Linked DNA regions of Homo sapiens: regions 1, 2, 3, 5 and 6 are each linked to region 4. Evidence: promoter capture Hi-C in 16 types of primary human blood cells and fetal thymus (Javierre and others, 2016). All regions are on one chromosome and are shown on one strand. Each heading gives the region's core, a stretch centred on a gene start or on the middle of the fragment in contact. The rest is flanking DNA. Distances are from core to core; before and after follow the strand shown.

What was found. The method cuts DNA at HindIII sites, captures the fragments that hold promoters and counts their contacts. A CHiCAGO score of 5 or more calls a contact.
Region 1: a contact is called between a fragment that was not itself captured here and the fragment with the promoter of CCDC6 in region 4, in 3 of 17 cell types (fetal thymus, non-activated CD4 T cells and naive CD8 T cells). The highest score is 6.2, in fetal thymus.
Region 2: a contact is called between a fragment that was not itself captured here and the fragment with the promoter of CCDC6 in region 4, in 1 of 17 cell types (M0 macrophages). The highest score is 5.5, in M0 macrophages.
Region 3: a fragment that was not itself captured here is called in contact with the fragment with the promoter of CCDC6 in region 4 in 1 of 17 cell types (M1 macrophages); the score reaches 7.1 in M1 macrophages.
Region 5: a contact is called between a fragment that was not itself captured here and the fragment with the promoter of CCDC6 in region 4, in 10 of 17 cell types (naive CD8 T cells, fetal thymus, naive CD4 T cells and 7 more). The highest score is 16.5, in naive CD8 T cells.
Region 6: a contact is called between a fragment that was not itself captured here and the fragment with the promoter of CCDC6 in region 4, in 1 of 17 cell types (fetal thymus). The highest score is 5.9, in fetal thymus.

Annotation. Positions count from the first base shown.
Region 1 is chr10:58,376,328-58,380,853 of GRCh38, forward strand. No RefSeq gene overlaps it. Among named protein-coding and RNA genes, the nearest start is that of TFAM, 6.8 kb to the right of the region's middle. The HindIII fragment of the contact is 7,211 bases long and covers 1-4,526 here.
Region 2 is chr10:58,342,488-58,347,343 of GRCh38, forward strand. All of the region lies in intron 1 of UBE2D1 (ubiquitin conjugating enzyme E2 D1), which reads left to right. Among named protein-coding and RNA genes, the nearest start is that of UBE2D1, 9.9 kb to the left of the region's middle. The HindIII fragment of the contact is 1,809 bases long and covers 1,610-3,418 here.
Region 3 is chr10:58,322,781-58,327,155 of GRCh38, forward strand. It overlaps LOC112268068 (a long non-coding RNA gene), which reads right to left. Exons shown (of 1, transcript NR_158219.1): 1 at 2,848-4,375. Among named protein-coding and RNA genes, the nearest start is that of UBE2D1, 10 kb to the right of the region's middle. The HindIII fragment of the contact is 6,040 bases long and covers 1-4,375 here.
Region 4 is chr10:59,904,075-59,908,907 of GRCh38, forward strand. CCDC6 (coiled-coil domain containing 6) reads right to left here and starts at 2,482. Exons shown (of 9, transcript NM_005436.5): 1 at 2,048-2,482. The coding sequence starts at 2,350. RefSeq lists enhancers at 1,195-1,424, 4,117-4,833 and silencers at 1,945-2,224, 2,255-2,594, 2,777-3,071. The HindIII fragment of the contact is 3,234 bases long and covers 1,189-4,422 here.
Region 5 is chr10:58,261,378-58,265,793 of GRCh38, forward strand. The region is part of intron 1 of IPMK (inositol polyphosphate multikinase); the gene reads right to left. Among named protein-coding and RNA genes, the nearest start is that of IPMK, 4.3 kb to the right of the region's middle. The HindIII fragment of the contact is 3,933 bases long and covers 48-3,980 here.
Region 6 is chr10:61,895,530-61,900,312 of GRCh38, forward strand. No RefSeq gene overlaps it. Among named protein-coding and RNA genes, the nearest start is that of ARID5B, 3.8 kb to the right of the region's middle. RefSeq lists an enhancer at 1,309-1,478 and a silencer at 4,692-4,783. The HindIII fragment of the contact is 1,379 bases long and covers 1,486-2,864 here.

The DNA.
Region 1 (4,526 bases), core at 1,656-4,155, 1.5 Mb before region 4:
TAGACATTCTTTGTGCATGTGATTACTCTAAATTAAAAGATCTATCTCTGATTATAGTTTAATATGAATTATTGCTTGTACCATTTTTCCCTATAATGTGAAAACTTTAGACCACCTGGATTCCATTGTCTCTTTCCCACCTTTGCTGTATTATTATTGTCATGTATTTTAATTTGACATATATGTGAAATTCCACAAGACACTGATGTTTTGTATGTCAGTATCATTATACCTACCTCCGATTTTACTTTTTCCAGTATTCATTGCTTTCCTGTTTCCATATGGGATCATTTACCTTTTAACTAAACAACTCCGTTTAGAATTTTGTTTAGTGTACATCTTCTGGTGACAAATACTCGCTTGGTTTTGCTTTTCTGAAATGTTTTTATTTTGCCTTCATTTTTACAGGATATTTTTACTGGGAATAGAATTCTGGATGGGTATTTTCTTTTCAGCAATTTAAAGATGTCATTCCATTGTGTTCTGGATTCCATAATTTATTGAAAGGTCAGCTATTATTAGTCTTTTTTTTTTTTTTTTGAGACGGAGTCTTGCTCTGTTACCCAGGCTGGAGTGTAGTAGTGTGATATCGGCTCACTGCAACCTCTGCCTCCCGGGTTCAAGCAATTCTTCTGCCTCAGCCGCCTGAGTAGCTGGGGATTACAGGTGCCTGCCACCACACCTGGCTAATTTTCGTATTTTTAATAGAGAAGGGGTTTCACCATATTGGCCAGGCTGTTCTCAAACTCCTGACCTCGTGATCCACCTGCCTTGGCCTCCCAAAGTGCTGGGATTACAGGTGTGAGCCACCGCGCCTGGCCTTATTAGTCTTACTGCCTTTTTAAAAGTAATATGCCTATTTTCTCTGACTGCTTTTAAGATTATCTTTTTTATTTTTAGCAGTTTTATGACGGTGTTACGAGGTGTAGTTTTCTTTGTCTTTATCCTGCTTGAGGTTCACAGAGCTTCTTGAATCTGTGGGTTGATATATTTTCATCAGTTCTAGAAAATCTCAGCCATTATTTTATGGAATATTGCTTCTGCCCCATTCTATTTCTCCCCTTTAGGGCCCCAGTATAAAAAATATATATTTGATCTTTTGACTGTATCCAACATGTTTTCAAACCTATTTTCCGTGTTTTCCTTTTTTCCCCTCTTTGTCCTTCTGTGCATCAGTTTTGTATTGACCTTTTTTCCAGTTCATTAATCCTATCTCCTGCTTTTTCAATATGCTTTTAAACCCATCAACTCCATTTCAGACATTATGGTTAATTCCAGGTTTATTTTTCAGTTCTAAGTTACCATTTGATTTTTTAAACATATTTTAGTTTTTTGATGAGTTCCTAAATTGTTTTATTTTTTGTCCATATTTTTCTCTAGTTTTTGAAGTTCTTAATCACAGTTATTTAAGTCTTTGCTAACTCTAGTATCTGAGTTACCTGTGGGTCTGTTTTTATTGAATGCCAGACATTGTGCAAAAAAAACCTGTGAAAACTCATGATGTTTTCTTCCACCAGAGAGGTTACATCGTGTGCTCGGCTAGTCAAATAGAGTGTGAAGATGACCACTTTAATGCAATCAGGACCTGTGCTTAGTTGAGGCTGGCTTGCAGTTTTATTAGACCCAAACTGTGTCTAGTTTATCTTTGTTCATAGTGCATAACCCTCTTCAACTGTCTTTGTTTCTCAGCACAGACAGGCTATAGGAAATTCCACCTTGCTTTTCAGTATTTTTGATTCACAGTTTTAGCCTATTGCTCCTGGGAGATTCATACTTTGGCAAACATCTTGAGCAAGCAACCCGCTGTCTCTAAAGCCCTTCAAATCTGTAATTATGTTACATTTGCTGTATGCAACCACCAGACTACTACTGGTTCTAATGTCATGAACAGTCATAAGGGATCAAGCTCGAATCCTGAGCCTTTAGCCACATCCAAATCAACAAGTGCTGCAGGGAGAAGAGAGGATGTAAATCATTGGTGTTAGTTTAGTTCACAACTTCAGTCTTTTTGCTTCTAGGCTGTTCTTTGGGGTCTCCTTCCTCTGTCAGGCTGTTGTCTTCTCAATACTAAGAGAAGAAAATTACACTATATTTTTTTTCAGAAATTTAGCTCTTTAGCCTCCTACCCAACAAAATTAAAACTTTGGCTCTTACTTGAGGGGGAAACTAGTTGTATGTTGAGGTTCCTTAAGTCTCTAGTTTTGTCACTCCAGCTCTGTGCAACCACAAAAAACTCTGTCCTTCAGCAGTGCTCCTCTGCCTGCATAAAGCCCAAATTCTCAGCCTCTAACCTGTACTCCAGGAGAAAAATGACCACAGATACTCAGCTCACCTCTGAAAGTCTCATGACTTCTGCAGCTCTCTCACACTTTCTCAATTATAAGGTTTTATTTTATGCAGCTCTTCTGATTCTCAGTGGAATTTCTTGAAGCAGAAATCTCTACCTCTTCATTTTTTGATGGTACTACCACAACATCCTATCTTTTCCCTACCCTCAAGTCCATCATCCACAGAAGTGTGAAAGTATTCTAACCCCAAATCTGATCTTGTGGGTTATCAGCTTTAACATTTTTAAATAGTTCCCCACAGACTCAGCAGTGGTTTTGCAGAGGGACCTACAGAAAAAAGAAGGGAGATGCTAATGGTTTAGCCTTTGGACCCTGACTTTAACTTGGACCCACTTATAACTTCAAACAGTGAAGCTCATTTTTATCTGATACGTATATCAGGACCCTTTGGGTTCTCAGGTTCTTTCCCCTTGTTTAAATCATGAACCAACAGAATAAAGTATCAAGTCCTTAAGACTCTTGTGGTAAATTTTAGCTTGCATCTCCAGTCTCATCTGCCATTCCCGACTCCCACCAAACTGCCTGCAGTTCTCACTGGATCCCAACCTCTCCCCACTTCCAGTATAGAATGGTGCTTCTCATTCTCAGATTTTGGTCAAATTGTACATTCCGCTCAAAATGCCCTCTTTCCCTATCCTTTAAATCTCTAATTTTTATGTCACTCCTTTTCTTAGCTGTTGAGGTAATAATAGTTCTCATCAATGTTACCATGATTCCCAGTGTGCATCTTTATGCTTGCTGGGATCTACAGTGTCTGGCACACAAGTACTTAAATAGTTGTTCACTAAACAAATGAATGAACTAGGCTTTGGAAGATACTTAGGGTTCTAATTGGCATATTTAAGTAGGGAAGGCATTAATGAAAACAGGAGAAGCCAAACAAAGGTAATAAAGTAGAAATAAGTGAGAATGGCACTGGCAGTCCATGTGCAATGAATGAGAGAAAAGATTAGGTGGAGAACATAGATCTGCTGGATATGAAATCTTGGTTCGATAGCAAGTAAGAAGTGTGTAAGTTTTTAACCAGCCAAATGATATAATGAAAGCATTTGCTTGGGGATATTCACTTAGCAGAGTATGCAATTGGAATTGGAATAGTCTATCAAGGTAGAATCCTTAAAGTCATTCTTGTGTTCTATGTACTTAACCAGTCAATGGAATCTTGCCCATTATACTTAGGCCTTTGGAGTATGAGCCATGGCACCATGTTACTTCAGAATCTCAGACCCTCTTTCCTGGATTACAGCAACAGTCTTCTCACACCCATCATTCTCTGTGCTCCTACTAAAGGGATTTTTATAAAAACAACTTAATTGTGCCTGTAACCTGCCTAAAAAGTTGTTTGGCTATATTTTCCTAACAAACTTAAATTATACATAGTCCTTTACAACCCAACCCCACTCAAATTTAAAGAGGTTTGTTTCATACCACTCCTTTTCACATATACCATGCCCTCATAAATATCTGTGACTTGCACATACTGTTTTCCTTTTCTGGAAGGCATCTCAACCTTTCCCCACTCGAAAAAACAGTTCAAATGTCACCTACTCTATGAAGCCATCCCCTGCTTTCCCAGGTAAATTTAAATGGATGATCGGGCCTTAATCGTATTTGTATGTATTATTTATTTATTTTATGGAGACGGGGGTCTCACTGTGTTGCTTAGGCTGGTCTCGAATTCCTGGGCTCAAGTGATCCTCCCCCGTGAGCCACTGCACCCAACCATATGTACTTTTAGAACTTAGCACAGTGTCTGGCACAGTATTGGCCTCTCCTAGGAACTGAGTTTTTAAAAAATTATCACTAAAAGATGAATATTACTATTGTGTTTTACAAGAAGACTAAGATAATATATAAATTAAAAAATGAGTACCACCCATGCACTCCTGCAATACTCAGATACAATCACTATTAAACCAAATTTTGTGTACTATTCTGCACTCTTACTTTTGCACGCACACTCATGCATATGTGTATGTGTAGTTCTTTAAATTCAAACCTATGTTTTTGGGTGACTGAATACTTTTTAAGAGAAAGGGTCTTGCTATGTTGCCCAAGCTAGATTCAAACTTCTGGGCTCAAGCAATCCTCCTGCTTCAGCCTCCCAAGTAACTGGGACTACAGGCATGTGCCATTGCCCTGGCTTAAGATATTATTTTAGTAAGCCACTCAGATAAA
Region 2 (4,856 bases), core at 1,264-3,763, 1.6 Mb before region 4:
TGGTTGGATTGTCTAGAGAAAACCAAGTGGACCTAACAAATGGTCTGGGTTCATTTTTCTTCTCTTCTCTTAAACCAGGAAATCTCTGGCTTGTGTTTTTGCTTCTCCCAAATTTTGCTGTATTTTGTTTTCACTTAAATTTAAAGATATTTTCTAGTTTTCCTTTTTATCTCTTCTTTGACCCTTGGATTATTTAGAAATACGTTATTTATTTGCCATATGTTTGGAGATTTTACAGATAGCTTTCTGTTGTTGATTTCTAATTCCATTATGGTCAGAGAACAAATTCTATTATTATTTGACTCCTTTTAAATTGTGGGTACTTGTTTTTTTTGGTTTTTTTTTTGTTTTTTTTTTTTTGAGATGAAGTTTGCTCTTGTCGCCCAGGCTGGAGTACAGTGGCGCGATCTCGGCTCACTGCAACCTCTGCTTCCTGGGTTCAAGCAATTCTCCTGCCTCAGTCTCCCAAGTAGCTGGGATTACAGGCGCCCACCACCACACCCAGCTAATTTTTTGTATTTTTAGTAGAGACAAGGTTTCACCATGTTGGTCAGGCTGGTCTTAAACTTCTGACCTCAGGTGATCCACCTGCCTTAGCCTCCCAAGTGGGGACTTGTTTTATGACCCAGCCTTTTCAGGTGCTCAACAGCACTTTTGAATGAATGATGGTTAATAGTTTGTAGACTTCATTTTGGTATTTTCCAGTTGGTATCTATTGACTGTAGGTTATTTCTAAGAAATGGATGCCAAACTAAGGTGTACACCTTCCCAGTATCTTTTTTTTTCTCTTTTATGAGTTTCCAAACAGTTTAGTGAATAATAAACATCCACTTTTTAAAATGGAATAGAAAATATTAGTGCTTTGCATATAGTAAGGGTGTTGTTTCATGAAATTTGTTTTAGTGTGTGTGTGTGTACTAGGTTGTAATGTAAAATCTTTTTCATATTATAAATTGCTGTAAGGAAAGCTGGAAAATCACTGTTCCATAACATAAGATCCTTAGGTAAAATTAATGTTAAAAATACATGCCATACAACCATACATATACATGTATACATATATAGGGAGAGCAAATGAATACATATACACATACACAGAGACACACAAATATATTGATACACATATACACATAATGTAAACTGTTCTAGCCTTGGAAACGTTTGCATTTGATACAGACCGTATGCATTGTTTTCTTCTACAAGTAGCAGCATTTTAGTGACTGATGTACAACCATAATATTCAAGAATAATACTGGATGATACTAACAGAGAGTAGAGAATTTATTATGAAACACTCAAGTGCCCACTATATGCCAGTTATTAGGTATAGAGCTGTAAGAAGCAATATTTAATAACAAATATTTGGTAGGTATTGGTAGGCATGTTCATGTTTTACACACGTTTTAATAAATAGGCAGCTAGGTTTTCTCTCTTTTTTCTTCCATCTTTTTTTGGTTACTGTAAAGTAAATAGTAAGTTTTGATAATGGAGCACTCAAAATGCTCCATTTGCATATTTTATGTGAAAATTCTATTTATTTAAGTTGTGTATAATTTCCTGTAAAGTTTTTCTTGACTCTCAGAGTGTCTTTAAACACAACGCTCCTGAAAGCTTATGAAATAGTATTCGTTTCTAACCTTTTATATGATATAAGCTCCTGAGAAAAGATAAGAATTCCTTCTCATTCCTTCACTTATCACACTTTTGTTTCTCTGGAGCATAGCTAAAAATGTGCAAATGGCCTTAATACAGTACTGGAGCATTGTTTGCTTCAGTGTTGGTTGAAAATAATGTGCTCTAGCTGTTACAGTGTTGAGGTGAGTATTGAATTGGGGTGGGAAGAGTGCTGGAGTAGAAGTCAGATGGTCTGTCCCTTTGTCCTAGTTTGGCTTTGTGACCTTGGCCAGGAGACTCAGTCTTTATACTCCTCACTTGGAAACTTAATGGATTGAACTTGATACTTTCTGTCATCTCTTCTGAATCATAATTTTAGGCAAACCTAAATAATGTATTTGCTGTTTTTTTTTTTGCAGCAAACAACAGTGATCACAAAAACAAACACTGAGCTTTGGCACTGTGCTATGGAGCTATATTAGACTTGACTTAAAATTCCATTTACTTTGAAATATCAGATTTGAAATAAATGTTGACATCTCTTAATGTATAAGGTCAATAAATCTTATTCTCTAACTAAAGAGCAATTATTTATGATGCAAATAAAATGTATTTCTATTATTGCACTGGTAACATAACGTGGTTCTCTAATTCCATTTAGCTTTTCTCTATTTGTTAGCTTTTGTACTTAAGATTGTTTTATCCACATATTTAGACAACTGCCATACACAGCTGCACAGCTGCCTTATAGGTAATAGTTTTTTTGTTTTTTTTTTTTTTAATGACAAAGTCTGGCTCTGTCACCCAGGCTGGACTGCAGTGGCATGATCTCAGCTCACTGCAACCTCCACCTCCTGCGTTTAGGGGATTCTCATGTCTCAGCCCCCTGAGTAGCTGGGTCTACAGGTGTGCACTACCATGCCTGGCTAATTTTTGTATTTTTAATAGAGACAGGGTTTTGCCATGTTGTCCAGGCTGGTCTCGAACTCCTGACTTCAAGTGATCCACCCGCCTTGGCCTCCCAAAGTGCTGGGATTACAGGTGAGAGCCATGGTGCCCAGCCTATGTAATAGATTTTTAAGATTCAGTGCTGGGCACGTGGCTCATGCCTGTAATCCCAGAACTTTGGGAGACCGAGGCAGAAGAAACACTTGAGCCCAGGAGTTTGAGACCATCCTGGGCAACATAGTGAGATCCCATTTATTTTAAAAAAAAAATTAAAAAATAGCTCAGCATCGTGGCACGTGCCTGTAGTCTCAGCTACTTGGGAGGCTGAGGTGGGAGGATCACTTGAGCCCAGGAATTCAAGATTACAGTGAGCTGTGATTGTGCCACTGCACTTCAGCTTGTATGACAGCAAGACCCTGTCTCAAAAGATTCAAGTTAATGCATTTATCAAACACCTTCTGATACAAGGCATATATTAAATGCAGTAAGGAGATGCTAGTTATGTAGAAAAACAGGTATCACCATTATCTAAGAAATTTAAAATTAATAAGTGTAAGAAAAGTCCTGTAACAACTAGATGGATTTAGGAAAGTACCAAACAGAAAATACAATATATTTAAACAGGAAGGGAGTCAAAGATGGGAGAGGCCAAATTTATTTGGGAAAATCAGGAAAAACTGTGGAGAAGATGGAATTTGATATAGGTTGGGAAGACTGGATAGCATTTTGAAAGACTTAGGGGAGCCAGGCTTGTAGAGGAAGCTACGGAAATGAAGACACTAGAATATGCTTGGCTTATTTGGGAAGGAGCAGATAATCCTGCTTTTGGGAATCGTTCAGAAACAGTAGACCATAAAGCTTCATATTGTAGACAACCTTGAAGGCCTGTGCTGAGAAATATGTACTTAATGCAGAAGATTGGGGAAGCCATTGAAGGTTTTTGAGTAATAGGAGCTAATACTTTTTTTTTTTTTTTTTTTAGACGGAGTCTCACTCTGTCACCCAGGCTGGAGTGCAGTGGTACAATCTTTGCTCACTGCAACCTCTGCCTCCCAGGTTCAAGCAATTTTCCTGCCTCAGCCTCCCAAGTAGCTGGGACTACAGGCGTGCACCACCATGCCCGGCTAATTTTTGTATTTTTTAGTAGAGACTGGGTTTCACCATGTTGGTCAGGCTGGTCTCGAACCCCTGACCTCAAATGATCTGCCCGCCTCAGACTCCCGAAGTGCTGGGATTACAGGCGTGAGCCACCATACCCGGCCGGAATGAACACTCTTAATCATAGGCATCCTTGCCCTCATCAAACTCAAGATTGTTTACTGTTTGTCATTATAATTTTGATTAATGTCATGAAAAGGGATGCATGGAGTATTCTAGGAATATAGCAGGGACCCATTGAAGGTTTCAGGGAAAACCTGAAGGCAATGATGTTTAAGATGAGACAAGAAAGTAAAAGTAAAGTAGATAAAATGAAAGAATGAGGGAGAAAGTGTGTTTTGGGGAGGGGAGGTGATTAAGTATCTTCTGCCGAAAAGGAAGCCATGTTTGCAACTAAAGGCAAGATTAAAAGTCATGGCTGGTGCAGAGAGCACTGGGGAAAAGTGTTGCAGATATGACGCTAGAAAGAAGTCACGTCTTGGAAGGTCTGGCAAGTCATTTTAAGGACTTATAAGTCTTACATGAAGGTGAATGGAAAACATCGAAGAGGTTTGACATGGCTCTTCAAGAAGATGATTTTGGCAGCAGTGTATAGGTAGAAAAATAGGAGGACAGTAGGTAAGTTAAGATATTGCACTTAAGTGAGATCCAAAGAGGGTCTAAGCTACAGTGTTAGCAGAGGACATTGAAAAGAGGGATATATGACAAAAATTACAGGGTGTTTGTACCACCTGGCCCTTTTGAGTTGGTGTGATCCATCTATGCCTACACCTTCTTGGCCTTTCAAGTCAAGTATCACAGGCTCCCTGGTCTAGGCAATCTCTTCAGATTCCTCCTTCTGTTATCCAGTCTGGTCCCAGATATTAAGATTGTCTGCCTGGCTGGAACCTTTGGGTTCTTATCCTAAACTACCTCTCCTCTGGCTTATATCAGACTCTTCTACACGTTGGACCTCAGCTGTCCTATTTGATGGGCCTTCTGGGACCCTTTCAGAGGGAGGGATCTAGACAGAAGGAGAATCTGAACAATTTGGTACTTTTCAAATTGTGAAGGAGTGGGATGTGAAGAGAAGAATTAGATGGTAACTCCAAGGTTTAGAGTTTGAATTACTAGAACGAATAAATGCATTTTTACTG
Region 3 (4,375 bases), core at 574-3,073, 1.6 Mb before region 4:
GTTTATTTCATTTAGCATAATGTCCTCAAAATTCATCCATGGTGCATCCTATGTCAGAATTTCCTTCCTGTTTAAGGCTAAAGACACAGATTTTTAAAGGATAAGGAATGCTGTATTTATCATCCTTGGGGTTTAGTAAAGTCTCTCACTCCTGGCTGCAGGGGAATGGGAAAGTAATGGGAAAGGAAGGAGAAGGATTTGGGAGAAAGTTTCCAAAAAGTAGAAAGGCATACAGGAAGGAATTAGGAACACATATTGTATCCCTAGGGTGAGCCCAACCACCGAACTTCCTGTGTCAGTAAAGTGTAAATATCTTTCTGCCTTTTCACAAGATTATATTATACAGTATATATAAAGGTCTTCCTAAGCCAGCTGGCTTTGGAGTCCCCATCACTCTTAATTGATTATAAAGTTGGCTTTGCATTTAGTGCCTGTAATTAGATTCTGTGAGGCATTGCAGAAAAGTACAACCAACCATGATTCAGAGCACTTGGAAATAGGTTTGTTAAAGAGCTGTGTCATGTAGACTTGTTTAACAATGTTTATAGCATTAACATGTTTATTACTGTTTAATCTCAGGAGTAAAATTACAAACATCAATCTCAGTAAATGACAATATATTGTTCTAGATTACTTAAAAAGTTAAGAGAGTGAGGTGCTCATTTATTGCTTTAAAGTATAGTCTTGCAGGGAGCGGTGGCTCATGCCTGTAATCCCAGCACTTTGGGAGGCCGAGGCAGGCAGATCACGAGGTCAGGAGATCAAGACCATCCTGGCTAACACAGTGAAACCTCGTCTCTACTAAAAATACAAAAAATTAGCCAGGTATTGTGGCATGCGCCTGTAGTTCCAGCTACTTGGGAGGCTGAGGCAAGAGAATCACTTGAACCCGGTAGGCAAGGTGGCAGTCAGCCGAGACCGCACCACTCACTCCAGCCTGGGCTACAGAGCGATACTCCATCTCAAAAAAAAAAAAAAAAAAGAATAATGTTTACTTTTAGATGGCATATCAGCTGCAAAATGTGCAATTGTTATAATATAGAACTAAATTGATTAGAGCAATACAGTCAAAAGACTCCATCCAGAATATTTATATCATAGCCTAAAATGACAATTCATATCAAAGAAGAAAGGAACTAAATTTCTAAACATGCTTGTGAAGGGTCACAAGATAGGAGAAAGCTGGTTTTTTTTTTTTTTTTTTTTTTTTTTTAACTGTTGTTTGTTTGTTTGTTTTGTTTTGTTTTGTTTGAGATGAAGTCTCGCTCTGTCATCCAGGCTGGAGTGCAATGGCATGCACTCACTCTTGGCTCACTGTAACCTCTGTCTCCCAGGTTCAAGAAATTCTCCCACCCCAGCCTCTGGAGTAGCTGGATCTACAGGCACACACCACCATGCCCAGCTCATATTTTGTATTTTTAATAAAGACAGGGTTTCACCATATTGGCCATATTGAACTCCTGGCCTCAAGTGATCTGCCCACCTCAGCCTCCCAAAGTGCTGGGATTACAGGCGTGTGCCACCTTGTCTGGCTGGAGAAAACTGTTAAATGGAATTGTAAAAAAGAAAAAAATATATATCTGAGAAGAAGGAACCCTGAAAAAGAGTAAAACACATCTATTATGGGAATAAAATTCTCTCTACATGTAACTTTCTGCTCTAGGATTACCACTGCCTTAATCTTTTTTATATCAAAACTTTGAAATGAGTTTATTAGGGATATTCTTCCATGAAACATTTTTCATTTTAGATAATAAATCATGGGATAAAAATGCTATTTTTTCATCATTTTTAAAAATTTTATATAAATTAAATAATAGACCTTCCTTTCTTCCTTCCTTCCTCCCTCCCTCCCTCTCTTTCTTTCTTTCTTTCTTTCTTTTTTCTTTCTTTTACTTTCTTTTTTTTTTTTTTTTGACAGAGTCTTGCTCTGTCACCCAGGTTAGAGTGCAGTGGCATGATTTAGGCTCACTGCAACCTCTACCTCCTGGGTTCAAGCATTTCTCATGCCTCAGCCTCCCGAGTAGCTGGGATTACAGGCATGCACCACCACACTTGGCTAATATATATACATATATGTGTGTGTGTGTAGAGATAGGGTTTCACCATGTTGCCCAGGCTGGTCTTGATCTCCTGGCTTCAAGGGATCTGCCCTCCTCGGCCCCCCAAAGTGCTGGGATTACAGGCCAGACTTTCCATATAATTTATCAAAACATGTTTTTTTTCTTTGTGTTAACAAAGGCCATGAGCGAAATCAGTGATTTCCAAACTTTTTTTTCAAGTGTTGGAAGCCATTCTTTTAATAAATTCTAATGTGGAATTCAAGAACAATAATAGCTCCCATTTTTCTGAACAAGCTCCATGTTCCCCATATTGTGCTAAGTGCATTACACATTACCTTCTGTTTCCGTTGATCATACATGGTAGGTCTATTAAACTAATTTTTATATGAGGAAGCTCACCCAAGTCCATTCAGATACTTTAGAAAAACAGACACATACTGAACTGCTCCAGTTACAGCTGGGGATGAGAGGGAACGGGCCACATCCACATTTCTGCCCTCACCACAACCTTGTCCCAGCTCCCACAACCCGGTCCTAACTTCCGGGGTCTTTGTTGAAATCCCCCTCTGCCTCAGAGTGGCCCATCAAGAGCCTGTCCACTGGGTGCTTTGCTGAAGAATGGGGGGATGCAGCTGCCCTGTTTAAGAAGGGGTCTAACTTCCCAGGGCCCCTCAGAACGTTATGAAAATAAATTATGACTAAATAGAACCACAGAGGGATTTTTTTTTCTCGTACTTCATTAATCAAAGAAAGAAAAAATGTTTAAACACTCTTCTGCTTGCTCTTTGGTGCTCACAATTGGTTTTATTGTTAATGAAGAAAAATGGGCTACAAAATGGACAGGATCAGTCTTGAAAGAAATGCAGGTCTTAGAAGGATACACATAACAGAAACTGCCTTGAAGGAAGCACAGGTCACTCCTGAGAAGTTCATGGTTGGCTCCACCACTGTTGAGGCTGTCTGCTCTTTGCCCTTCCCAAGTGGTGGTTCTAATCTAATTTCAAACAGAGACTCATTCAACACTGGGTTTGAACCCTGTGGAGATTTGTGGGGGACAAGGAAGTTCATATATCAACCACAGGTACCACCCTGGGAATGGTCCCCCTGAAATCTTACGGCCTGTAGCAGGACAGAATTGGGGATGTGGGGGTCACATAATGCCAAAACCTGTGAGACAACAATCCAGACAGCTGTTCAAAATAAGACACATGAAGAATGCTTGTCCTACATGTGTGCCAAACACCGGTTCTGAGCCATTCATTCCCAGCTCTCCTGATTGGGCTCTACCTCCTGATGATTCTGGTGTTACAGTTGGTGGGACTACCCAATCACAAAAGGAATAGGCCCTGTTGTATATGAAGACCTCAGTGGCCTATAAGCTCAGAACTGCCCCCAGGACAAAAGAGAGTTCTCACCAGCCCAAATAAAGCACCCAAAGGTCAAAAAAGGTGGGGACATTGGATGGGGTGGCCCTCCCCAGAAACCACTCCTGGACAGCAAAGCCTCAACAACACAAGGAGAAAACAAAAAAGAGCGCTTCCTGTATTTGCAAAGACAAACACTTCTTCATTGAGTGAAGGAGAGGCAAAATTGGCAATTGGCCGGCAGTCCCCAGCAGTACCTGAGAAATGAGGTCACTTTTGTTCCAGAGAGGGCAGCCTTGTCTTGGCATCTCCTGCAGCGGAGCCAGGCTGCACTGGCCTCACTCCGCCAGGGCCAAGCTCATGGACCATAGCCCCGGGACTTCTGGTAGATGTCCTGCTCCACTATGTCACCTCCACCAGGAATGCCTGAATCTTTTCACCAAACCCTTCTTTTCACTCTACTCTCTTTGAAATTTCTGACTGAATCCGTGTGTCAACTCCTTCCTTCAACGTCTTCATAAATTGCCCGATTGCCGACTGTTGCTTTGACTCTGCCTCCAGATCTGCCTTGGTCAGCAGCACACCCAGGGAGCTCTTCATCCGCCTCTTCCACTTGGCCAGTGATCCTCTCCAAAGACTTCTCCAAATCTGCCCCTCTTTCTCTGGACCATCTTTCTCTGGACCATCTCCCCCCACCCCCGCCTCCACACCCCATCGTGACCCGGGAACCACTCTGTATTCCGTGCGCTGACAACTCCTGCTGCCTGCTCCGTATCCTGCAGAGACTTCTTAAATCTGAGCTTCTGACGGCTGCAAGATCCCTGTGGCCTCTTCCGTAAGCTGGGCCGGGTGTGGGAGAACTGGGTTGCTGCAGCCCTGCTGCGGGGTGACAGGAGGCCCAGGCTTCGCATTGCTGTGGGTGACGGTCATATGGATCCCGGCTCCTGC
Region 4 (4,833 bases), core at 1,232-3,731:
ATTAAAGAAGAACTGAGAGGCTTCTGGTACTTGTGCAGTGTCATCTAAAACAATGTTAACTTTACTCATTAACACCACACGACATTTCACAAAGTATATTCGGTTGGATGTCAGTGTAGTTAAGGGTAAGTGCTAAGAAAGCAAGCCACCACCTTATACGCTCTTCTAGCCAAGTACTCAGAAGGCCTCTGATCTTAAACACCGGGAATGAACACATTTGTTCCTGCAAAGCCAACATGTTTAAGCACAATTTACAAACCTAGTTATAATACGGTCTAAGTGTCAAACAGATAACCCTTTCATAGTCTCTGCATCCCTCATTCCTCCCTCCCAAACAAAACCAGCCTGAATTGCCCACTGCATGCAAAAGGCTATTTTGCTTCATGCAAGTCTTACTACTTTCCATGGCTCACAGTCTCCAAGAGACTAACCCTCTCATTTACTAACTCAAACCTTAAACTGCCTCCAACAACTTCCCTCTCTTCTTAACCCCCACTCAGCAAAGACATCTCTGTCAGCGAAGAAAGCTGCATAGGAGGCTTGGAAGTGGCTGCCTCTGCAAATTCCCCGCCCCCCACCTTCCTACCAAAAGGGCACTTCAAGAACTTTACCATCTCACATGAAAGTTGCTCCAATTCCATTCTCCAAAATTGGATTTGAGCATGAAAAGTTTCTTTTTACAATCAACTGCTATTTAGGCTACTGATCACACTTAACTTGCAACTTGCTTTCTACACAAATTAAGAATGCCATCTAGTTCTCATGTATGAGCCAGCACTGGGGGTGTACACACGCGTGCGCACACATATACACAGCCTCCTCCACCGAAGGCATTTCCTGGCACAAGGGGCATCCTAAACTTGCTCCATTTCCAAGGTGTGACCCTCTATCCCCAAATTCATCCCTTTTTCTTCATTTCAAAGTTCAGCCTAATCCGCTATTTTGCAGCAGCTATGGCCATTTATCCCCCTTGATTTCTTGACATCATCTTCTCTGCTTCTGGCTGGGGAACTTTTGATTTGAATACAGTTGTCTGTGTGGGGATCCTTCATGTTAATGATGTGGTGAGCTGGCAGGGATGATAGGTGAGAGTACACAGTGTACTTTTTCTAGTTACGTTTCGCCTCATCACTGCTATAGGGGCCTTTCTAAACGCCTGCCACACCAGGAGAGAGACCTACAGACCCAAGCTTACCCGTTTCTGGGCAGCCTCCAGGGGACAGGTAGAAACAGAACAGATGGCCTGTTCTCCAGTATCTAGACTCAGAAGCAAGATACTTCTAACCACTCCACGAATGAAGCAAACACACGTACCTCTGGCTCAGCCAGGGAGTCACAGTCACTACCCTTCCCCTGGTTTCGGCCCCAGCCCTGTCCAGGCGTGGATGCTGCACTCTCCTCGCTGTAAACCGTCCACCCTCCCAACCCAAAGCAAAGAGCTTCCAACAGAGGTGGGAGCATTAGCGCCGTACCCGCCCTTCCCTCTCGATCCCGGCCAGAAAACTCCACTTCCCGGATTCCCGGCCACTCTCTCCCGCCCCCTCCCCGGGCGATCCAGCTAGCGCAGTCCAGATGCCAGCTTAGTGCCCAGTCCAGCTGCGAACCCCCACACTCCGAGCCAGGACCCAGTAAGAGATCCCAGCTTCCTCCCTCTTCCAGGACTGGGGTTCCCCAGATTCTGGACGCACCCCTCAAACATGCTAGGGCTGAAAAAAGTCCTACCCCGCCCCCCAGCCACGCCGCCAGCCTCCAGCCCAGCCCCGGAGGGGCCTCCTCTCCAGAGGCTAAAAGGGACCATGAATGGTTGCCACAGTAGCCTTCCCCCGCACCGCGCAAGGGTCCTCAGACCCCCGAGGAGGACAGACCCGCGTGGCCCCGAAGGGATACCTCCCTCTCCTCCCGGAAGCCAGCAGGTCCCCGCAGGGAGTGTGCTCTCAGAGGGTCCCCGGGAATCTGGGGAAGACTTGGGGGGTGGCTGGATTCGGGTGCAGCCCCTCCCGGGGCGGGCGGAGGTCGGCGCTGCGGCGCGTCCCCGGGGGGCACTCACGATGGTCACGCTGGCTTTGCGCAGGTCGCGGTTCTCCTCCTGCAGTGCCTTGCACTTCAGTTTGTAGGTCTCCAGCTCTATCTTCAGCACCTTGTTCTCTTGCTGCAGCGAGGCCAGGCGGTTGGTGAGCTCCTCCAGGCGGAACGGCGAGATGACAATGCCCCCCGACTTCCCACCGCCGCCGCCTCCCCCGCCGCCACCGCCGCCGCCCGAGGTCGACGAGCAGGACGACTGCATGGCGGCCGAGCTGCTGCTGTTGCCCCCCGCCCCGTCCGTGTCGCTCTCGCTGGCGCTGTCCGCCATGGCCGCGGCGGGCTGGGGAAAGGAGGAGGAGCAGCAGGGAGGCGGCGGCGACGAAGGCCGGGCTGCGAATGAGTGGGCGCCGGGCGAGCACAGGGGAGCGCCGAGCTGAGCGCCTGGCACCAGGGCGCAGACTCGGAGCGGCGGCGAGAGAAAGAGAGGGCGCTTCCCGCTGCCAAGGGACCTCCTCTGCCAGAGAACAGAGACCCCGCCCGGGCTTGGGCAGTATTGCACTGGGGCTCGCTCCAGCCGGGCTGGGCGCGCTCCCTAGGCCGCCCAGCAAAGCTGGCTGAAAGCTCCGGGACCCGCCCGCCGCCGTCTGGTGACCACGGGCGGGCTGGGAACGCGCAGGCACTGCGGGTGCGGGAAAGCCAAGGACTGCCCCCGCACCACCAGCTCGCCAGCCACACGTGTTCCAAGGGAGGGCCTCCGAGCCCCCTGATCTAAGCCCACGGCCGCCCAGCCTCTTCCGGGCTCGCGCCCGCCCCGAGAAAAAGGAAACCTGATGCCCCACCAGCCTCGCAGGTGCCGGGGACACGTGGAAAGGTCAGCCGGGCTCCGGCACCCATCCTCTACCGTGTTGTGGCCCCATCTTCCGCCGACTGTGTGTGCGCGTGTCTCCCTCTATCTGTTTCACACATACACGCAGTTTTATATTCTCAAAAGCAAGGTGTTTTTGACTAGGAAGGCTTGGATAAACCTAAGAGAACAAAGTTCCTCTACAAGAGGCCGAGGAGGATGAAACAACAGCAGCCACAGGTTAACCTTGTTAAGTAAGAATTTGCAGGAGAGACACACATCTCCTTTAATAACCTCATAAACCACACTGCGCTCAATTGTTTAAACAAGGTGCAACTGTTTTTTTCTTTTTCTCTTTGCATTTTGCAAACATTTCCAGCACATGTCTCGTAGTAGGATTAAGACAGTAACATTTACCTAATGAAGAAAAAAAAAAAGGAAGGCGAAACACTTTTAGTAGAAGATTGAAACACCTCTTTAAGTGCCAATTTTCCAAAGTAACTGCGGACATAACATTATGCTATACAAATAGTAATGATTGAGTGGGAGTGCAACATCACCCGTCTTTGCTATCCTCTTGCTCACTCCTAGAAAACTTTAGCATGTAAAAATAAAACAGTAATTACTGTAATGCGGTCTAATTCATGGTTCTAGCTTTGCAGTTTAAGAAATTAAAAATCAAAAACTTTTATTCCCCCTTCCTCTTCCCAAAGAAAGGCTTGCAGGAAATTGGCCCAGCAGGTGAGATGATTCTAAACACTTTGCCCTGTTGACACAAAACAGCTTTCACTTATGTATAAAAATTGGAAAGTGAAACTGACCAGACTAGTTTTATTACCCACGCTTAGTTAACATTACAACAAACACATGGTAATAGAAAATAGAAAAAAAAGTGTAATTTTTTTTTCTGTTGGGTTGAACTTTCTGAAAGATTTCTAAAGTGTTAGGAAGAAAGAAGAATGATTCTTATTCCCACTCCCTCATTATCTTTAAACCTAAATTTGATCTCATGATTAAACGGTGATTCAATGGCTCTTGGAAACTGGCACCTCAGAATAAACTCGAAAACACCAAGTGTTCCAAATGACATCATCTTTCACCAAGATGGCTGCTTTTAGCAAACAGCTTAAATGCCAACAGCAACTAAACCCCAGTTTCTCCCAGGTATTTTTTAGCTTAGTGCTGGAGGGCTTCTGAACTCTGTCACTGTTTGTATAGCAGGAGGGAGGAAATGCTTGGCTTTGCTCTTGAGAAACATATAGGCAATCTAAATCATTCTGTTACAAGTGATCCAGTTTAATTTGCACTGAAACTTAGTTCTCTCACTTTTTTGGGATCTAGTACATGAGACAATGAGTTAAATTGGAAACGGATTCTGGAAAGCTCACTTGAGGGTTGAAATGGAAGAGTAAAGCTAGCAGGGAGAAGCACCACAGGGGGAAACAGATTTAACAACATTCTTTCCCCTTTATTCAGCACTGTGATCGAATCTTAAGAGTAGGTCTGGCTGCCATACCTCACAAGTTTCTATTGCTCCCTATTCCATATTATCTTAAAGCTTCCACTTTTAGAGCTTATTGCAACAGGAACATTCCTTCCAGGCAGAGCAGGGGGCAAATTAACTCTCTCTTAGCGTCACCACAAAACTAACCGCCTTGGAAAGGCGGACTCACACTGCTTCAAGTCAGCAGAGGGGTGGAGTTTGAAGCGCCTGGTTTTCTTAAAGGGCCCAAGTCATGGTTAAGCTTAAGAATGTAGTGGCCTTCAGTGGAATTTGGAGGAAATTTGCATTTTGACATGGGACTTGTAGGTAGTAATCGTGGTTAGAAGACTTTAGGGAGAAAGCCATCTTCTAAAGCTTCCCTGCTGATACAGATGGGAATAAACTGGAGAATATTTTTTCACCGCGGTTTTTATTGTTATTGCAAAGCAGAAGCGTGTCTAATTTTCTACTTCTTGTAAAAGTG
Region 5 (4,416 bases), core at 764-3,263, 1.6 Mb before region 4:
ATACTTTTCTGTAAAGTTTTGTTTTTTGGAAGCATGTTAATGTTATAAGCTTTCAAATATATAATCAAACAAACAAAATTTGAGGAAGCAGGGATGAATTTAAACAGAAACAAATGAACCCAACTGTATTTCAAATGAATACTACTACTGCGAAAAGGGAGAAAAAGAAATAACAACCAAAAACAAAAAACCTAATCCAACTAACTTTTGTTTGTTTTTTTTTTTTTAGACAGTCTTGCTCTGTCACCCAGGCTGGAGTGCAGTGGCACAGTCTCGGCTCACTGCAACCTCCGCTCCCAGGTTCATGTGATTCTCCTGCCTCAGCCTCCTGAGTAGCTGGGACTATAGGCGCCACCAACACATCCGGCTAATTTTTGCATTTTTTGTAGAGACAGGGTTTTGCCATGTTGGCCAGGCTGGTCTCAACCTCCTGGCCTTGGCCTCCCAAAGTGCTGGGATTACAGGCATGAGCCACCGTGCCCAGCCCCAAGTAATTTTTGAACACAGTTTATACCCTCAGTATAAGAAAATCTCATCCTGAATTCATGAGTTGATGTCCTTTGTAGCGACATGGATGAAACTGGAAACCATCATTCTGAACAAACTATCGCAAGGACAGAAAACCAAACACCGCATGTTCTCACTCATAGGTGGGAACTGAACAACGAGAACACTTGGACACAGGGCAGGGAACATCACACACCGGGGCCTGTCGTGGGGTTGGGGGGATGGGGGAGGGATAGCATTAGGAGAAATACCTAATGTAAATGACTAGTTAACGAGTGCAGCAAACCAACACTGCACATGTATACATATGTAACAAACCTGCACGTTGTGCACATGTACCCCAGAACTTAAAGTATAATAAATAAATAAAAAAATCTCATCCTGAATTCTTTATTCTAGGCTTGTTTTCTGAAGTAGTATGGGTGTAGAAATTCTGAAAATTGTAAGATTAAGCAAAAGAATAAACATATTAATATCACTGGGAGCCAGGGTTCTTACTACAGAAGAAGGGAAATACAAATTTAGAATCAAGGGAAAGGAAGAACTCGGGTTTAAATGAAATTTGAAATATGAAATTATAATTTCTAAAATATTTATACATACTTTAAAAATCATGTCCATTGAAAAGTCCTGGAAGAAATGATACTCCAACAGTTATGACAATACCTAGTAACACAGATCTTGGTTTCTAAATACCATTTTCCACTAAAAAGAAACCAGGGCTCCTTGAAGAAATGGTTGACTCTAGGGCTGGGGAAGAAAGTTATGAGATAATTCTAAAAAATCTGTTATGACAGAAAGGAAGTGCTCTCAATGGTCAAATTTGGGACCATTTGAGCAACAAAATAAATAAGTTCCTTTTTTAAAAACATTGAGATGTGATTAAAGTCCAATAAATAAGTTCCATAATGGGTAATGATACATGTTATCAAATAGGAATCCATGATGCAAACTGATTATAAATAAGGACATAAATACTTAAGGGTAAAGGAAGAGCTATTTCTTGGAATGCTAGCTGTTAAAGCAGAGGGAGTGAAAGAATGGGGGGAAAAAATCACAATTTTGTAACTATCAGAATAAACACAGCTTCAGGCAAGAATCAACAGATGCCAAATCTAGGGATGAAGTTGATGAGAATCCAGATAGCTGCATGACTGTAAAGTGTCTCCTCACATATAGCTTATTAAATGTAGAACAGAAAACATTAACTATATACTGAAGCCAGGCATGGTGACTCATTCCTGTAATCCTAGCACTTTGGGAGGCTGAAGCAGAAGGATCACTTGAAGCCAGTAGTTCAAGACCAGCCTGGGCAACAAAGCCAGATCCCATCTCTACAAAAAATTTTAAAATTAGCCTGGCCCAGCAGTGGTTCATGCCTGTAATCCCAGCACTTTGGCAGGCAGAGGTGGGTGGATCACCTGAGGCCAGGAGCTCAAGACCAGCCTGGCCAACATGGCAAAACCCCGTCTCTACTAAAAATACAAAAATTAGCCAGGCATGGTGGTGCACTCCTGTAATCCTAGCTACTTAAGAGGCTGAGGCACGAGAATCACTTGAACCTGGGAGGCGGAGGTTGCAGTGAGTCAAGACCGCGCCACTGTTCTCCAGCCTGGGCAACAGAGCAAGACTCCGTTAAAAAAAAAAAAAATTAGCCTGGCCTAGTGGTGTGCACCTATACTCCCGGCTACTCAGGAGGCTGAGGCAGGAGGATTGCTTGAGCCCTGAAGTTTGAGGCTGCAGTGAACTACATCACGCCACTGCACTCCAGCCTAGGTGACACAGCAAGAGCCTGTCTCAAAAAACAAACAAACAAAACGATATACTGAAGAAGCCAGACTACACTTGAATCAGACAACCAGAAATAATCCACTACCAAAGGGCAGCTATTGTTGGCCTCCACTTACACAATGTTCCAGCTGGAAAAGTATCATCTGAATCCCATCGTAAGGAACTATCAGAAACCCAAATTAAAGAACATTTCATAAAATAACTGGCCTGTACTCTTCAAAATGACAATGTCATAAAGGACAGGGAAAGGCTGAGGATATGTTACAAATGAAAGGACACTAAAAGACATAACAACTAATTGCAATAAATGATTCTGGACCAGATCCTGTACTGAGAAAAACAAATGTGATAAAAGACATTACAGTATTGGAACAGTTGACAAAGTGAGACTATGGACTATAGATTAAAGTATTATATCCCTGTTAAATTTCCCATAGTTGATCAATGTGCTGTGGCTACAGAAGAGAATATCCTTGTTCTTAAGGAAGACACACTTTAGTATTAACATGTAAAGTGGCATAATGTATGCAACCTACTTGCAAATAGTTAAGAAAAATTATTTGCATTGAGAGATAATAAAACAAATTTTGCAAAATGTTACTTTTCTATTGTTCTTGCAACTTTTCTGTAGGCTTGAAATTATTTTAGGTTAATTAGTTTCAGAGGATATCTAATAAAAAGAGACTACTAAGCCAAGATAATTGTAGGTCTTTCTCCCCCACAACAATTATCAGTTTAAATCCTTGTTTTCCCTATAGACTACCCCATTTCTACATCCTACATCAGATCAAGAAATATCAGATTTCCATCATTTGTTTAAAACTTTAAGGACTTTTTAAAGAACTTAATGATACATATTAAAAGAATTTTATGCTAACTTTGGTGAGTTTTGGGAATTTATATTGATCTTTTTTTTGCGAAAACTTCCTACAGAGATAGGTACACAACGTGCAAGGTATGCTATTATATACAAGAATGTTTAATAAGTACATTACTTATCACAGCAAACAAATGGTGAAAAGTCTAAAAATCTATGATTACAGAAATAGTTAAATAAATTGTGATACATCCACATTGTAGAACACAATTTTTAGAAAGAATAAAGTATACCGTAAGTGCAAAAATATAGGTATAATACATGATATAATACAGAATGAGAAAAGTTGCTGATAGATTTATTTGTATAAAAAAACAGAACCGCGCTAATGTGTTTATGTATGTGCCCAGAAACAAAGGCCTGAAAGGATAGACAGGAAGTAGTTACCAGTGATTGCCCCTGGGAGAATGAGTAGGGGGAAGGGCACTACTTAAACTGAATTTTTTTCCTAAAAGATCCGTGTACTATACAATTTTTACAGTTTAAAAAACAAAATACTTTGTATTCTTAGAACTAAGATTTAAATGTATTTTGATGAAATATGGTTTCAGTGAAGAACACAAAATATAACGGATGTCTGAACTACTAATATATGCTTGTTACTTAGCATATATAACAAGATCTATTTTTCTGTTCAAGCACCTTTGTTCTATCAAGTTCCATGAGTTTAATTTTTAAACTAACAAAGCCAACAACTCCTTTTTGGAAATAGGTAAAATAATTCTAAATGGAACATTTCTGGTTACTTACTGATAGTAACACAAATTTAAAAACAAAACAAATACCAACATAACGTCCTTAACAAAGCTTATCCTGAGAATTATTTCAATTGACAGACCAAAGCATGATCTAAATGATGTAAACTGTACATGACTTATGACAGTGGAGAAACATAATAAAACTGTTGAACTTTGAATTAGTGACCATCTTATCCATTTTACAAATAGGGAATATATCATCAGTCAAGTATCCTTTTACTTAACAATACAGTCAGGATTGTATAACTATCTGAGAATTAAATTCAACAAATATTAGGTTGCTAGCACAGTATGTTTAAGCCATTCTACTATGGTGACACAAACACTGTCCCTACTCAAAAGACCCTTATGAAATTGCAAAAAAAGTTTATTTTACACTGAATGCCATAATAAAATTAAGGACTACTACCTCTAGAATCTAAACTTTTCCATTAATTAGGCAATTTGGGTGACAAATTAACTTTTCAGCCACTATTTGCAATC
Region 6 (4,783 bases), core at 925-3,424, 2.0 Mb after region 4:
CATCTGACTTGCAAAATTTCTGAAAATGTAATCATCAGCTCTAGGGAGTCTGCGGGAACTAGTGCCAGCACATCTCTAGAAGGGCGTTGTTTAAGCCCTGAGGGAAATTCATCTGGTCCCCTACTATCTTTGTTGAAAGCCCACCCAATTTTATTTTGGCCAAAGCTTATTGGAAATGAAAACAGAACCAACCTCACTGTTTTTCTTGGTATTATTTTTCTTCTGAAGTACACAGATCTCCTTATACCCTTAGTGAATTACCACGTTTACATATTTCAACCTGCAATAACAAGTCATAAAATTATCAGTCTGTGACATGGCAAAATGTAGGTGGAGGCGGTCAAGGGACTTGCCGGCACTTCCATGGGTCTGAATGACTCCCCAGCAAGGGCAGCTGCCTCTATACAGATGACCAGCCTGGATAATTCTGCCACAATAACTGAGAAATTCCGACAAAGCCAGAATTAGGGTTTGAGTCCTGCAGATAATTATAGTCATGGACATGGAGACACAGCAAATCAGAGAAGAATGATCCCCTTGACTTTCAGTCTAGTGATTTACCTACCGTACCCACTCTGCTTCTAGGTAATGAGTTACTTAATGCTTGTCAAGTAATTATAAGTTGTAAATCACCAAATACAAGGCATCATTAATGTCCGTTTGAAACTGCACAGAGAAATTTTAGTAGGCAATATATGAGTGCCCCATTGGAGCCAAGACTCCATGTCTGTACATTTTTTCTTGTCTCCTTTAAAAAAAAATCAGGTATGGCAAGATGTTTTCATAACCTCAGATGGTTGGGACCTCTGTTTTGAGTATGACCTATGATAGGTGTTCCCAGGAATTTCTTTAATACCATGCTGGGGGGAAATTTGATCAAATTATTTATTAATATGTGGATCACAAATGAGTCTGAAAGCCTGAGTCACCACTACCCTTTCCTCCAGCACCCTGCCATTTGAGATGGAATGCCGTGGCATTCTGAATAGAGGGGCAAGATTACAATTTAGCCAAACGTCATATATGTACCCCGCAGTGCAGGCAATTAAAAAAAAAAAAAGCTTAGTTATTTCTATACTAAGTAACCCATAAATGTCAAGGGCACTTGAAGGCAATGAAATTGTTAAAATTAAGGGGTGTTAGGGTGTATTTGTGATTGGGGTGAGGGAATGGGACTTGGCTTTAATTTACAAACAAATTAGAAAAAATAAACAGACTCAGCATTGCTATTGTAACTGGAAAGGCTTGAGCAAATTTAATCCAACTTCCTGCATAATATTTGATTAATCTCAGACTCGGGAGGAAAATCAAGATGAGATAGGAAGTCTCCATCTGTATCGAGGGCAGGGGAACTTGGGGCTTCCAGTGCCCACAAAGGGCATCACATGACCCTTCCCAGGGGATCACTTGCTCCGAGTTCCCTGTGTCTCTCTTGGCTCCGGCTCCAAGTTCATGAGAAATCTGTCCCCATACCCATCCTTCTGAAGCTTCCAGCCTTTACCACCTGGACCTGGGCTGGAGTCCCACCCCCACCACAGCTCTTGAGACAGGCGACGAATAGACCCAAATTTGAGATGTAGCTCAACCTTTGACCACTAGAGGTCTCCTGGAAAGCAATGACCCGTATAACCCGGTTGATCCTCCTTCAAACCAATAGACTTGTTGCACTAAGGCTTGGCGAGCCTGCTCTGCTCAAGGCCTCCTTATTAATAACGCCACCCGCCCCCGCCGCTCACGATGGCGCCAGGCATAGAGGGGGATGGGACCAGGCGGTGGCTGACCCTCAGACAGTGCTGGTTCTTTACGAATCAGTCTGCAGACTCCAGGGCTACCCCTTCGAACCCCACTTACTGACCAAGCAAGAGCAGGAGAGCGTGCCTAACTCGAGGTCCCCAGGTGGGCAGCGTGGAGCCCCACAGACTTCCAACCAGCGATGGACTGGGCAAGGGACCCACGTTCAGAATCACCTAGCATCAGGTCCGCCAACAGGCCAGAATCCACTCGCCCCTCGCTTCGTCCCCCTAATTCCTCGTCCCCATTACCCCCCTTCACCGCCTCCGTTTTGCCTCCGGATCGCAAAAGTGACCCGAGCTTTAACCAGTGGAGAGAGATCAGGGAACAATTCACTGTCCCTATTCTCATCCATGTGGTATTTTCTGGGAAAATTAGTGGCTTCTAGCTGGAAGAGGAAAGAAAAGGGGTGGGGGGGTGGATGGCTGAGGGGGAGCAAGAAAGGAAACAGCCAGGTTGAATTCCCAGTCTTTATCAAGCAATTCGCTCACCAATGAGAGAAAGCTGCAGTGGCAGATTCGAGCCACATGCGGTAGTGTGTAGCAATTAGTAGATAAAATGCTGACTAAAGTGCTAAAACATGAAGTATTATTGTAGCCAAGGTCAAAAATGCTTCAGTTGTCTTTTGCAATTTGGGGGAGGGGAGGCCCAGGGGTACGCAGAGAGGTTTGCATTTTCGAAATGGTCGCCTTCTTTCTTCAAACTGTACTTTTCCTTTTTTTTCTTTTTTTATGATCCTGTTTATTATAGTCCAAGCTGCCTAATTATGTCACTGCTGGTTTTTGCAACTAACTTAATCCTCCTGATCCTTTATGAAGCGATTCACAGACACTGAATAATGTCTACTGCTCTCCCATCCCCTTGAGGGGCAAGAATGATTTTTAATTTTTTACCGTGTAAATACACGAGATTAACTTAGAGAGTTGGATTTTTGGCTAGTAAAGCAGCAAGAATATAGGTGTGTGGGTACCGGATTCTGTGTTTCAGTACAAGAAAGAGCCCAGAAGTAGTGGGTCATATAAACATATACTACTCTCCCTCCCACCTTTTATACACAGCAAGTTCCAGCTACAAGCTTTTTTATAGATAAATAAAGCAGTTGCTTTCATGATTATAACTGTCCTGAATGGATTGTCTTCTTACAACATTCAATCTGTTTATGAGTATTTACTTTACATTAGCCCAGGGACCCTGCACTGCAGGAGTTTGCCTCTATTCCCCTGGGTGTCGGTGTCTCAAGTCTTACATCTGCTCTGTGATTGATGGAGCCTTGAATCCACGTTATTACTCTCTCACAAGCAGAAATCAAACAGGCTATTAACTACATTACTTCAAAGAACTGTTTCAATACAATCTCCTTATCTTAATTGAAACTTTCTTTGTATGGATATTTGCTACACAGATAATTTACAGGTGCCTATCAAACATCACATTAAAGAAGAGGTAAAATTGAGGGATTTTTGGGGGGGAGGGGTAAACACTATTGTGATCTGTAATTTTAAAAGGCATTCACAGTATTGGTTTGATTTATTAGATTTATTATGTTCACGGGGGGTGGGGGCAGTGCTGTAAAAAGAGGGGGAAAGATACCCCTGTGATTCGGTTTTGAAATTTAGCATTCATCTGATTACAAGGCTGCGGATATTCAAAAATATTCAGACCCAGATCCCTGCAATTGTTAACATCTCAGAAACCTTATCGGAGAGATAAGGCAGCATGCATCCTAGTTCAGTGCCTACCTTGAAGAGCTGAAGAAACAGGGTTTCTAATTAGATGAAGTTCGTTACACACTTAAAGACTTACAGCACCAAAGACAGTAGAAGTAGCTTAGATGCTGTAAAGAGCTGTATAATTTTTTAAGAAAGAGATTTAATATACAATTGAGGGATACCCTCAGGCATTCTGTTGAGGTTTCCTGCATAAATGCTGCTGCATTGGTCATACAGGAAACTGACTCAGAGTCGATCTCAAATACGATCTTGTCAAAATACTGCAACTCAAGTTTTTTTAATATAGGATTTCTTGAACTGGATGTATATATTTACGCTAACACGACAGAGACTAACAGAAGCTTTAGGCATATCTATTTTTAAAAAAGACATGTAAAATGCCCCTCAGTCAAGTCCATTCATATGTTAAAAATGAACAAAATGGGCGATTCTAATCAAACGTCTGCAGTATGCATTATAAAGTTAAAAAGAGAGAGAGAAAGCGCAGGAGAGCTATAATTTCTCTTTGTAACCCATGTTTATAAAATAGAAAGATCAGATGAAATTTCAAGAGATAATTAAAGAGTGATGTGCAAGTCATAATTTGGCTAATGTTAAAGATGGGAGACTGCGAATTGTAGTCCTCCATGGTGCAGAGTTGTGATATTACTTTAAATTATTAAAATAGTTTTCGACAGCTTTCAGAATACCGGCTCTTTGGCATGGGCTTTTATTATTTATTGTAATTAGAGGATCTGCCATTTTCTTTCGTTTATCTCTGTGTGTATAGAAACGAGATAGATTTTGCCTTTTATTACTTCCCCATATTCTGAATCAAAAATGTGGTTTAGATAATGTTAAGTGCCCTAATTCTTACTGCAGCGGACGCAGACGTTATGAAAAGGCATAAAAATACACACAGAGGGTCTTTCCACCTCAAGTCACTGAATATGAGGCATTTGTGCTCTGCCGGGTGTATTAACTTCAGCCATGTGAATATAATTTTCATTAAAGTAATCCTGTTTCAACTAGATGCTGTGACTAGAGGTGAAACGTTGCGAAAGCGTTAAAAATAGCTTACTAGTAATTTCAACATCCTGTAATTTTATCACAGATCAAGTTTCAACTGTCATACTATACAGACCTTATTCCCCATATAGTACATGTTTACTTTTTTAGCATGCCAGACCCACTTTGGAAAGATTGGTGCCAATATAATAAAAGCTGGAGGGGGGGTGTGCTGGAAGGAGTGGGAGGAGAGCGGGGAAGGGGGTGGGGGAACG